Linked DNA regions of Homo sapiens: region 1 is linked to region 2. The links are contacts of gene promoters, found by promoter capture Hi-C in human tissues and cell types (Jung and others, 2019). All regions are on one chromosome and are shown on one strand. Each heading gives the region's core, a stretch centred on a gene start or on the middle of the fragment in contact. The rest is flanking DNA. Distances are from core to core; before and after follow the strand shown. Region 1 overlaps ZMPSTE24 (zinc metallopeptidase STE24). Region 2 holds the start of RLF (RLF zinc finger).

The links. The method cuts DNA at HindIII sites, captures the fragments that hold promoters and counts their contacts. A contact is called where the count stands out against the background at its distance.
Region 1: a contact is called between a fragment that was not itself captured here and the fragment with the promoter of RLF in region 2, in 2 of the 25 tissues and cell types used here (adrenal gland and aorta).

Annotation. Positions count from the first base shown.
Region 1 is chr1:40,278,622-40,283,708 of GRCh38, reverse strand. ZMPSTE24 (zinc metallopeptidase STE24) reads right to left here. Exons shown (of 10, transcript NM_005857.5): 7 at 2,182-2,366. Among named protein-coding and RNA genes, the nearest start is that of ZMPSTE24, 23 kb to the right of the region's middle. The HindIII fragment of the contact is 4,061 bases long and covers 1,787-5,087 here.
Region 2 is chr1:40,159,599-40,164,341 of GRCh38, reverse strand. It overlaps RLF (RLF zinc finger), which reads right to left and starts at 2,955. Exons shown (of 8, transcript NM_012421.4): 1 at 2,706-2,955. The coding sequence starts at 2,942. It overlaps LOC105378671 (a long non-coding RNA gene), which reads left to right and starts at 3,064. Exons shown (of 3, transcript XR_947232.3): 1 at 3,064-3,377. RefSeq lists enhancers at 2,051-2,666, 2,670-3,179, 2,667-3,283 and a silencer at 4,292-4,493. The HindIII fragment of the contact is 7,287 bases long and covers 435-4,743 here.

The DNA.
Region 1 (5,087 bases), core at 2,568-5,067, 120 kb before region 2:
CAGAATAAAAGGGCCTAATGCATATATTACAGTGGATGAAAACAGTGTGATGCATATAACATGGTAGATGAAAACAGATCCCCATCAAGGTATGTGAAATTTTAGAACACTGAAACAGAGAAAGATCTAACAAACTTCCAGAAAAGCAAACAAAAACAAAAACAAAAAAAGTAACAAAAGGATCAGCAATTTTTTTTTTTTTTTAAGACAGGGTCTCACTTTGTCACCCAGGCTGGAGTGCAGAGGCAGGATCTCAGTTCACTGTAACCTCCACCTCCCAGGTTCAAGCAACTCTTGTGCCTCAGCCTCCTGAGTACTGGGATTACAGGCGTGCGCTATCATGCCCAACTAATTTTTGTATTTTTTTGTAGAGACAGGGGTTTCGTCATGTTGGCCAGGCTGGTCTCGAACTCCTGGCCTCAAGTTATCTGCCTGTCTTGGCCTTCCAAAGTGCTGGGATTACAGGTATGGGCCACAGTGCCTGACCATAAGCAGATTAACTTTCTAAACTTGCATGATTCTCTAGTGTTATCACTGGGTTATTCTTTCTGGACTTCAGTTTTCCTATTTATAAGATGACTTTAAGATGTCTTCTAATCCCTTCACAGAATTTTATTTCATCTACGTATTTATAACAGGCTAGGTACTTTACTAGAACCTGTTTTTAGTGTCAAAACAGATGCTCAGATGCTAATCATTTTCTGGTACTCTCTACATTTGGGTAGAGAGTACAAGGTATTTCACACATATTATTTCATTTAATCTTCAAAACCCTAAAATGTAGGTATCTTTAGCCTAGTATTTCTCAACCAGGGGAGACTCGGCCCCACCGCTACCTTTAGGGGACATCTGGCAATATTCTGAGACATTTTTGTTGTTACAATTTGTAGAGGTTGTAGGGGAAATGGCCCCTAGTGGGGAGAGACCAGGGATGCTGCTAAACATCCTGTGATGCACAAGATACCTCCCACAACAAAAAAATTATCTGGCTCAAAAAAATAGCGTGGGGCTTGAGAAACCCTACTGGCCTCATCTTTCAGTTAAGAAATCAAAGATTTAGAAAGCTTGGCGGGGTGCGGTGGCACACGCCTATAATCCCAGCACTTTGGGAGGCCAAGGCAGGCGGGTAACTTGAGGCCAGCAGTTCGACCAGCCTGGAAAACATAACAAGACCTCATCTCAAAATAAATAAATACATAAATAAATGAAAGCTTAACTTACTTGCACAGAGTTACACAGACAGTGAGTGAACAGGCATCTAAAATCATCTCTGTATGACACCAAAGGCAATGGCACATTCCATCACACATACAAATACTGATGATCATTTCTGACAGTTTGTATTGTTTCTTATCATTGTCCCCTCTCCCCCATTTAGTCTTGATACTTTAAATTCTGCTAATCAATATCAGTCAATCTTATCCACGAAAAGGATTCAGAAGCAGCTTTCTCAGACTCTCATGTCAGATTTGAGAAATGTCTTTTCTTGTGCTCCAGTTACTATATCTAGAATCTAAAGCTTGACAGTAGCAATTCACGTATTGTACTGTGATTGCATGACTATTTCCCCTTTAGACTGTAAGCTTAAGAGGAAGGTATTCCTTTTTATTTTTGTGTACCTAGTGCCAAGTAAAGTCTCTCAGCACAGAGTATACATTTCATAAATGGGTGTTAAACAAATAAAACAGACTAAATTACACAACGTATCCAAGGATACAAAGCTACTAAATGACAGAACCAGGATTCAAATCCAAGTCTCTCCATTGCCAAAGCCTACAATTACTGTCTTAATAAAGCTAAAAATTAGATGTTTATCTTCTCTTTATCTTGCTTGTGGGAATTCTTTGATCATAAACACATAAGAAATTATATATATATATACACACACATATATATATATACACACAAGTTCCTGTTTTAAAGATAGCTTATAATCATATGAATTTTCTTATAAGAGCTTCCAATTTTAATATCCACATTCTATAAAAGCTTGCAAGGTAGTTAGCATGTAATAATAGTGGTGATCTCTCCTAAATACCAGAACTATAAAGGAGCCATGGTTTTCATCTGATAGTCTCCCTGAATTCAACACTCACTGCCTAGAAATTGATGTTATTTTGAGTTGTCACAGGAACTGTGTATAAAAACTAAGGTAGAATCTCTTAGGAAAAAATAACTCACTTTAACTTTAGCTTTTATTTCTTCACTGTTCCCTTCTTCCTCATTGCGGGGTTCCATGCCAGAATCCTCCTGGATGTCTTTGTTTAGTACAGAGTACTCTTCTAGTAGAGTGTCAAACAAAACTATTCGCTTGTTCTTGAAGAAGCCATAAAAATAAGCATTGCTGTGGGAAGAGCGTTTAGATCCTAAGGAAAAGACAGTTCAAAGCATGGAATATAATTAAAAAGTTTGGGGTCCTTTGGAGAGACTCCTAGAAATTGAATTACTGGAAAGGACATTAACATTTTCAAATCATTTAATATGTGAAGAAAAATCATATCAACATAATTCACCACCAGCAGTGGAGAGTGTCTGTTTTTTGCCAATAAATGTGCTCATCACAGCTTTATAGCAGTAAGTAAATAAGTAAAGCCTAAACATCCAACAGTTACAAATGATTCAATTATAGTAAAACTATGAAATGGAATTTTAAGCTGCCAGAAAAAAATTATACTTCCAAAGAATTTTAACAAGAAAAAGCTCACCAATATATTGTGAAGGATACAAAACTTCACGTATATCAGGTTCCATTATCGTCAAGAAAAAATGTGCATGTATTAGGTTGGTGCAAAAGTAATTGCGGTTTTTGCATTGTTGAAATTTGCTGTTTGATATTGGAATACATTCTTAAATAAATATGGTTATGTTATACATCATTTTAATGCACATTTCTCACTTTATGTTTTTTGCTAATGACATTACTTGCTGTTTATTTTATATTTATTTTAGATAAGGGAAATTATATTAGACAAAAAGCAAATTCAACTGGGTGCAGTGGCTCATGCCTGTAATCCCAGCACTTTGGGAGGCTGAGGCAGGCGGATCACTTGAAGTCAGGAGTTCGTGACCAGCCTGGCCAACATGGTGAAACCCTGTCTCTACCAAAAATACAAAAAATTAGCCGGGCATGGTGGCGCACACCTGTCATCCCAGCTACACGTGGGGCTGAGGCATGAGAACTGCTTGAACCCAGGAGACGGAGGTTGCAGTGAGCAGAGATGTCGCCACTGCACTCCAGCCTAGGCAACAGACGGAGACTCTGTCTCACAAAGAAAGAAAAAAAAAAAAGCAAATTCAAGCAATTTTCTTCTTTGAGTTCAAAATGGGTCGTAAAGCAGCAGAGACAACTCGCAACATCAACAACGCATTTGGCCCAGGAACTGCTAACGAACGTACAGCGCAGTGGTGGTTCAAGAAGTTTGCAAAGGAGATGAGAGCCTTGAAGATGAGGAGCGTAGTGGCAGGCCATCGGAAGTTGACAATGACCAATGGAGAGCAATCATCGGAGCTGATCCCCTTACAACTACACAAGAAGTTGCCGAAGAACTCAATGTCGACCATTCTACGGTCGTTTGGCATTTGAAGCAAACTGGAAAGGTGAAAAAGCCTGATAAGTGGGTGCTTCATGAGCTAAGCGAAAATAAAAATTAAAAAAAATCATTGTTTTGAAGTGTCGTCTTCTCTTATTTTACACAACAAACCATTTCTCTATCAGACTGTGACGTGAGACGAAACATGGATTTTATAGAACAACGGGCGATGACCAGCTCAGTGGGTGGACACAGAAGAAGCTCCAAAGCACTTCCCAAAGCCAAACTTGCACCAAAAAAAGGTCATGGTCACTGTTTGGTGGTCTGCTGCCAGTCTGATCCACTATAGCTTTCTGAATCCTGGCAAAACCATTACATCTGAGAAGTATGCACAGCAAATCGATGAGATGCACAGAAAATTGCAACGCCTGCAACCAGCACTGGGCAACAGAAAGGGCCCAATTCTTCTCCAAGACAACACCCAACCGAACATCGCAAAATCAATCCTTCAAAAGTTGAACAAATTGGGCTATGAAGTTTTGCCTGATCTGCCACATTCACCTGACCTCTTGCCAACTGACTACCACTTATTCAAGCATCTCAACAACTTTTTAAAGAGAAAACGTTTTCACAACTAGCTGGATGCAGAAAATGCTTTCCAAGAGTTTGCCAAATCCCGAAGCACAGAGTTTTACCCTACAGAAATAAGCAAACGTATTTCTTGTTGGCAAAAATGTGTTGATTGTAATGGTTCTTCTTTTGATTAATAAAGATGTGTTTGAGCCTAGTTATAAGGATTCAAAATTCATGGTCTGAAACTGCAATTACTTTTGCACCAACCTAACAAATATTAACAGAAAAGCATAAGCCCATGCCTATTAGGAAACATACCAAAATACTGAAATGTTTATCACTAAATTCTAAAATTATAGATTTTTGTTTCCTTTCTTTTCCCAAAGACTTTTAAAATCAGCATACCTACTTCTATAATTAAAGCAATTTTTATAAAGACTGGAAGAAGACATACCTTTTTTTCTTTTGAGACAGGGTCTCTCTGTCGTCTAGGCTGCAATGCAATGGCATAATCATGGCTCACTGCAGCCTTGACCTCCTGAGCTCAATCAATCCTCCTGACTCATCCTCCTGAGTAGCTAGGACTACAGACACATACCACCATGCCCGGCTAATTTTTTGTAGAGACAGGGTCTTGCTATGTTGCCCAGGCTGGTCTCTAACTCCTGGGCTCAAGCAATTCTCCTGCCTTGGCATCCCAAAGTGCTGGGATTACAGGTGTGAATCACCACAGCTGGCCCATACCTAAATTTTTAATAGCAGCTAACAGTACCTGAACTATGGTTGATTTTTATTTTCTTCTTTATGCACTTCTTTGATTTCTAAATGTCCTACAATGTGCAGTGAGTTGAGTATAGTGATTAAGAGCACAGACTTTGGGTTCAAATCTTGGCTCTGCCATGTATTAGTTCTGTCAATTTAGAAAACTTTCTTAATTTCTTTAAGCTTTAGTTTCCTATTTATGAAGCGAGCCTAATATCTACC
Region 2 (4,743 bases), core at 1,706-4,205:
CAATCCCAAAGATAGAGCCATTTCTTTTAAGTGCTGCAAGAGTTGGAGAGAATATGGTCCCAGGATGTTGCAAAAGGGATTACTTGGTACAATCTAAGTCTCTAGGACATTTCTAACTAAATAACTGATGAAAATACATTTGTAGTATTAAGCATCCCATAAGCAGGGGTCAGACCTTTATAATGTAAAAATGCCTACAATCTATCTTTATATATTATGTGCTCCTCTCCTAGAGTCCGAGAAAACTGTCTTAACTAGGCTCCCACCTTCAGAACTGTCACACAATCAGTGTTCCTTAAGTAAATGAATATATCTTATTCTTCTTTTCAAATGTGAAACCAAGAGCTATTCAACAAAATTTACTGATGGTGAAAATTTTCCTGCTTCTTCATACAATTTTTACTTTTTCTCTATCTGGTCATCAAGGACACAGTTGATCTTATCTGGACTACAGGGGAAAATGTGTCAAAAATATGATAAATTTTGTGAAGACTTGTACACAAATTTTCTATTCTGATTGTATAAAGCATTATAAGGAGATAAAGGTCAGAAAATAAGATAGTTTTGCAGACATGGTTACCCAAGGTTATTAGCTAAGCAGTGGTAAAGTCACAGTCAAGACCCAACTTAACTCCCAATCCCATGTGCTTTCTATTACAATACAGTGTTACAGGAATACTTGTTCTTGTTTCATTTATTAGTCTAAAAAACATTTTTTGGGAAAATTTTAGGTTAAAAAAAACTTCATAGAAAAGACAAATTACACATGCTTTCTTTTAAAAATTCTTCTGGGCCATCACATCTCTGGTGTCACCAAGACTCAAGACATTAAAACATTACCTTAAACAAAACTGCAGTTGCAAGCACTAGACATAAAGCAGAATACATATATATGTGATCCTTTGACAAGCTTCAATGTGACTGGTTACATTCATTCTTGTCATCTTTCCAGGGAGACAACTCAAGCTTAGAAGCCTTACCCAAAACCCACAGTTGTTTTCCTGCACCACCCCTCTCCTTCCATTAGTTTCCCCTCCTCCCATAGCATTCTGGGTCCTTACCAATCTCTACCTTTGGCACTGGGATGCTTTCCCCACCCCAGACCTTCACGTGACTCATTTTCATCCTTGCAGCCCATAGGGTCTTACTAACTAAAGTGGCCTCTCCCAGTTACTTCTTTCTAAGCACATACTACAATTTATAATTAACCTTTTTACTTATTTTTCTAGTTAATTGTCTTTCCCATCAGGATATCCCATGAAGGCTCTCTCCTCACCATTGTCTCTACAACACCTCCTTTTCCATCATTACCAAAACCGCACTGGAAATACTGTCATTCCTACCACCTCCCACCAACTGTAAGTTCATCAAGGCTAAGTGCTGTCTTACTCATGTTTCCCCAGCACTTGGTAAAGTCCCTGGCACTATCCTATGAAGTCAGTAAAAATCTGTAAAATAAATGAGCTTACTAAACAGGGATGACTACTACTAAGGAAGCAGAGAACAACAACACGTTAACATTTAATAGTACAGGGCAATGTTGCAGGTTGTACACACAAAAATTGGAGTGGTACAATCCACGGAAAAGATTAGTAAGGACAAAATTCCATTCAGAGAGATGAGGTGCTTCTGCCTCGGCAGAGAGAGGGAAGAAAAGCAATCAAGCAAGCTAACTTTTATTCTACTCCGGACCAACAGAGCAAATTGCCCCCCAAAATTATTATTTTAGAACGCCGCAATTTATTCAGCATACTGGACTACTTATTAGACTCCAAGTACCAACATGCCACGATTATTTTGCATTTTCTAAGGTACAACAGATAAGGAGCTGATGGGTGCCTCTGAAACCTGACAGAACAAACATTGGAAGCAGAAATAATAATGGCCAATATTTGTATTTGTAAAAGACTTGAAAACATACAGAAAAATCTCGGAGTGGTCATGGAGACTAAACTAAACACACCCATAAATATGTAATCATAGGTTAGGACCCACCAAGGCACAGAAATGATCATACGACTGCCAAAAGAGGCCACACTCTACATCCCTCTTCCCATCCTCTTCTACTCAAAGAGTCAGCCTTATTCTCGGTAGCACAATCCTCTCAAAGAAATACAGAAAAGACGAAAGAACGGCTTAAACGTAAAAAAAAAAAAAGCAAAAACCAAACAACCAACCGGCTCCGCAATCCCTAATCAGAAAGCTCTAGACGCCTTTCGAAGCCAACTGTCATACCTTTTAGGAGCCCAGAAGATGTTAACTCCAAAAATAAGTCTCTGGCCCCAACACACCTCTCTGGATTATTCAGAAAAACCCGGGTTTACCAGTTCGGAGATCTGCACTCCACTCAAAAAAGGATCTCCCGGCAGGGACAAGCAATCAATCCCTCAGGGGGCAGTGGCGCTCCAACCACCCGGCCAGGACACAGGCAACGGCGACAGGGCACAGCCCTTCCAGGGACCCGCCAGGGCCCTCCGGGATCTCAGTAAGGCTCAGAGCAAAACGACCCAGCGGTGGCCAAAGTCGGGCAGTGGCGCAGGGGGGCCAGCGGTCGAGCTTCCGAGCTGGGCCTTCCCGGCCCGGGGGCGCGGCGAGTCACGGAGGTGGCGCCTTTCAGTTTGGACCCGGCTGCTTACAGAGGATCCAGGGCCTCCTTCCCTGACTTCCCCGCCCCGCCGCCCTCAGCCAGCCAGTCAGCCCCTCACCTGGCAGAAGCTCCGGCAGTAGTTCAAAGATGAGACCTCCGACACCTCTTGCTCCCTCAGCTCTGTCTCCAGCTGCCACAGACACGGCCGCAGTCCCGAGGCTCCCGGCGCTGGAGATACGGGGCGATGACCCCGAACCATGGACTCAGTCTCGACTCCATCTCCGGCTCCCGCTACCGCCGGAGCCTCAGCCCCAGCCCCGGCGACAGCGGCGGCGTCTCCCTTTCCGTCCGCCATCTTCCCACGGCCCACCAGCGCGTAGGCAACCAAGCCACGTGACTCAGCCCTGGCCCTGCCCCCGGCCGCCCGCGCACTGTGACGCACTCCTTAGCGACGCGGGCGCCCGCCTGATTCCGTCACTCGGACTCCGGGTGCTCTCAGTGGCCTACGCATCGCCAGTCCTGACAACAGCCTAGCAACAACTGGCTAGAGGCTATGCCCACCTAGACCCCTTTGAGGTCATGGGATCACGGAGCCAGAAATGCCTGTAGAGCAATCTAGATTTGAGGGGGATGACATTTGAACTGCGATCTGAAGGGACAAGAGGAAGGTAGCCCTGAAAGGAACATAGCGAAAAGCATCCCTGGTAGAAGGAAAATAAGCAAAGATTGTGAGGCCGAAATGAAGAGTAACATCAAGGGAACTTGGTTTATGATACAGACGGCATTACAAGTCAGTGGGCGAAAGGACAGACTCTTCAATAAATGGCGATGAGACATTTTTTCCAAAAGGGAAATAAATGATTAGATTTCTACCTCAAACCATTTCCAAAAATAAGGCCGAGATGGATTAAAGACCTGCAAACATTTTTCAGAAAATAAAAATAGCTTTATAATGTCAAAAATAGGGAAGAATTTTTTTTTTTTTTTTTAGACGGAGTCTCACCCTTGTTGCCCAGGCTGGAGTGCAACAGTGCTATCTCAGCTCACCGCAACCTCCGCCTCCTTGGTTCAAACATTCTCCTGCCTCAGCTTCCGGAGCAGCTGGGATTACATGCATGCGCCACCATACCTGGCTAATTTTGTATTTTTAGTAGAGATGGGGTTTCTCCATGTTGGTCAGGCTGGTCTCGAACTCCTGACCTCAGGTGATCCGCCCGCCTCAGCCTCCCAAAGTGCTGGGATTAGAGGCGTGAGCCACCGCGCCCGGCTAAGAATTTCTTAATAAGACCGGAAAAGCACAAACCATAAGGGAAAATATTTAGATTTGACTGTATTAAAATGTGTTACTTCCGTATAACAAGTTGAAAAAGCACACAAAGACAAGCCACAGACTAAATGATATTCCCCATATATATAACCATTGTTTATTGTTGTTGTTTTTTGAGACAGGGTCTCACTCTGTCACCCAGCCTGGAGTGCAGTGGCACGATCTAGGCTCACTGCAACCTCTGCCTCTCAGGTTTAAGTGATTCTCGTGCTTCAGCCTCCCAAAGTAGCTGGCACTATAAGCGTCCGCCACCATGCCTGGCTAATGTTTGTATTTTTAGTAGAGGCGGGGTTTCACTGTGTTGGCCAGGCTGATCTCGAACTCCTGGCCTCAAGTGATCCGCCCGCCTTGGCCTTCCAAAGTGCTGGGATTACAGGCGTGAGCCACCGCGCCCAGCCATAACCATTGTTTTGATTAGTATCCAAAACAGTTCCCGGGCTGGGCGAGGTGGCTCACGCCTGTAATCCCAGCACTTTGGGAGGCCGAGGCGGGCAGATCACGAGGTCAGGAGATCAGGACTATCCTGGCTAACACGGTGAAACCCTGTCTCTACTAAAAATACAAAAAATTAGCCGGGCGTGGTGGCGGGCGCCTGTAGTCCCAGCTACTCGGGAGGCTGAGGCAGGAGAATGGCGTGAACCTGAGAGGCAGGGGTTGCAGTGAGCCGAGATCGCGCCACTGCATTCCAGCCTGGGTGACAGAGCAAGACTCCGTCTCAAAAAACAAACAAACAAACAAACAAATAGTTCCCAAAATCGAAAAAGGCAAACAACCCAATAGAAAAGTAAATTAAAAAGCTGGACGTTTTGGCTCATGCCTGTAATCTCAG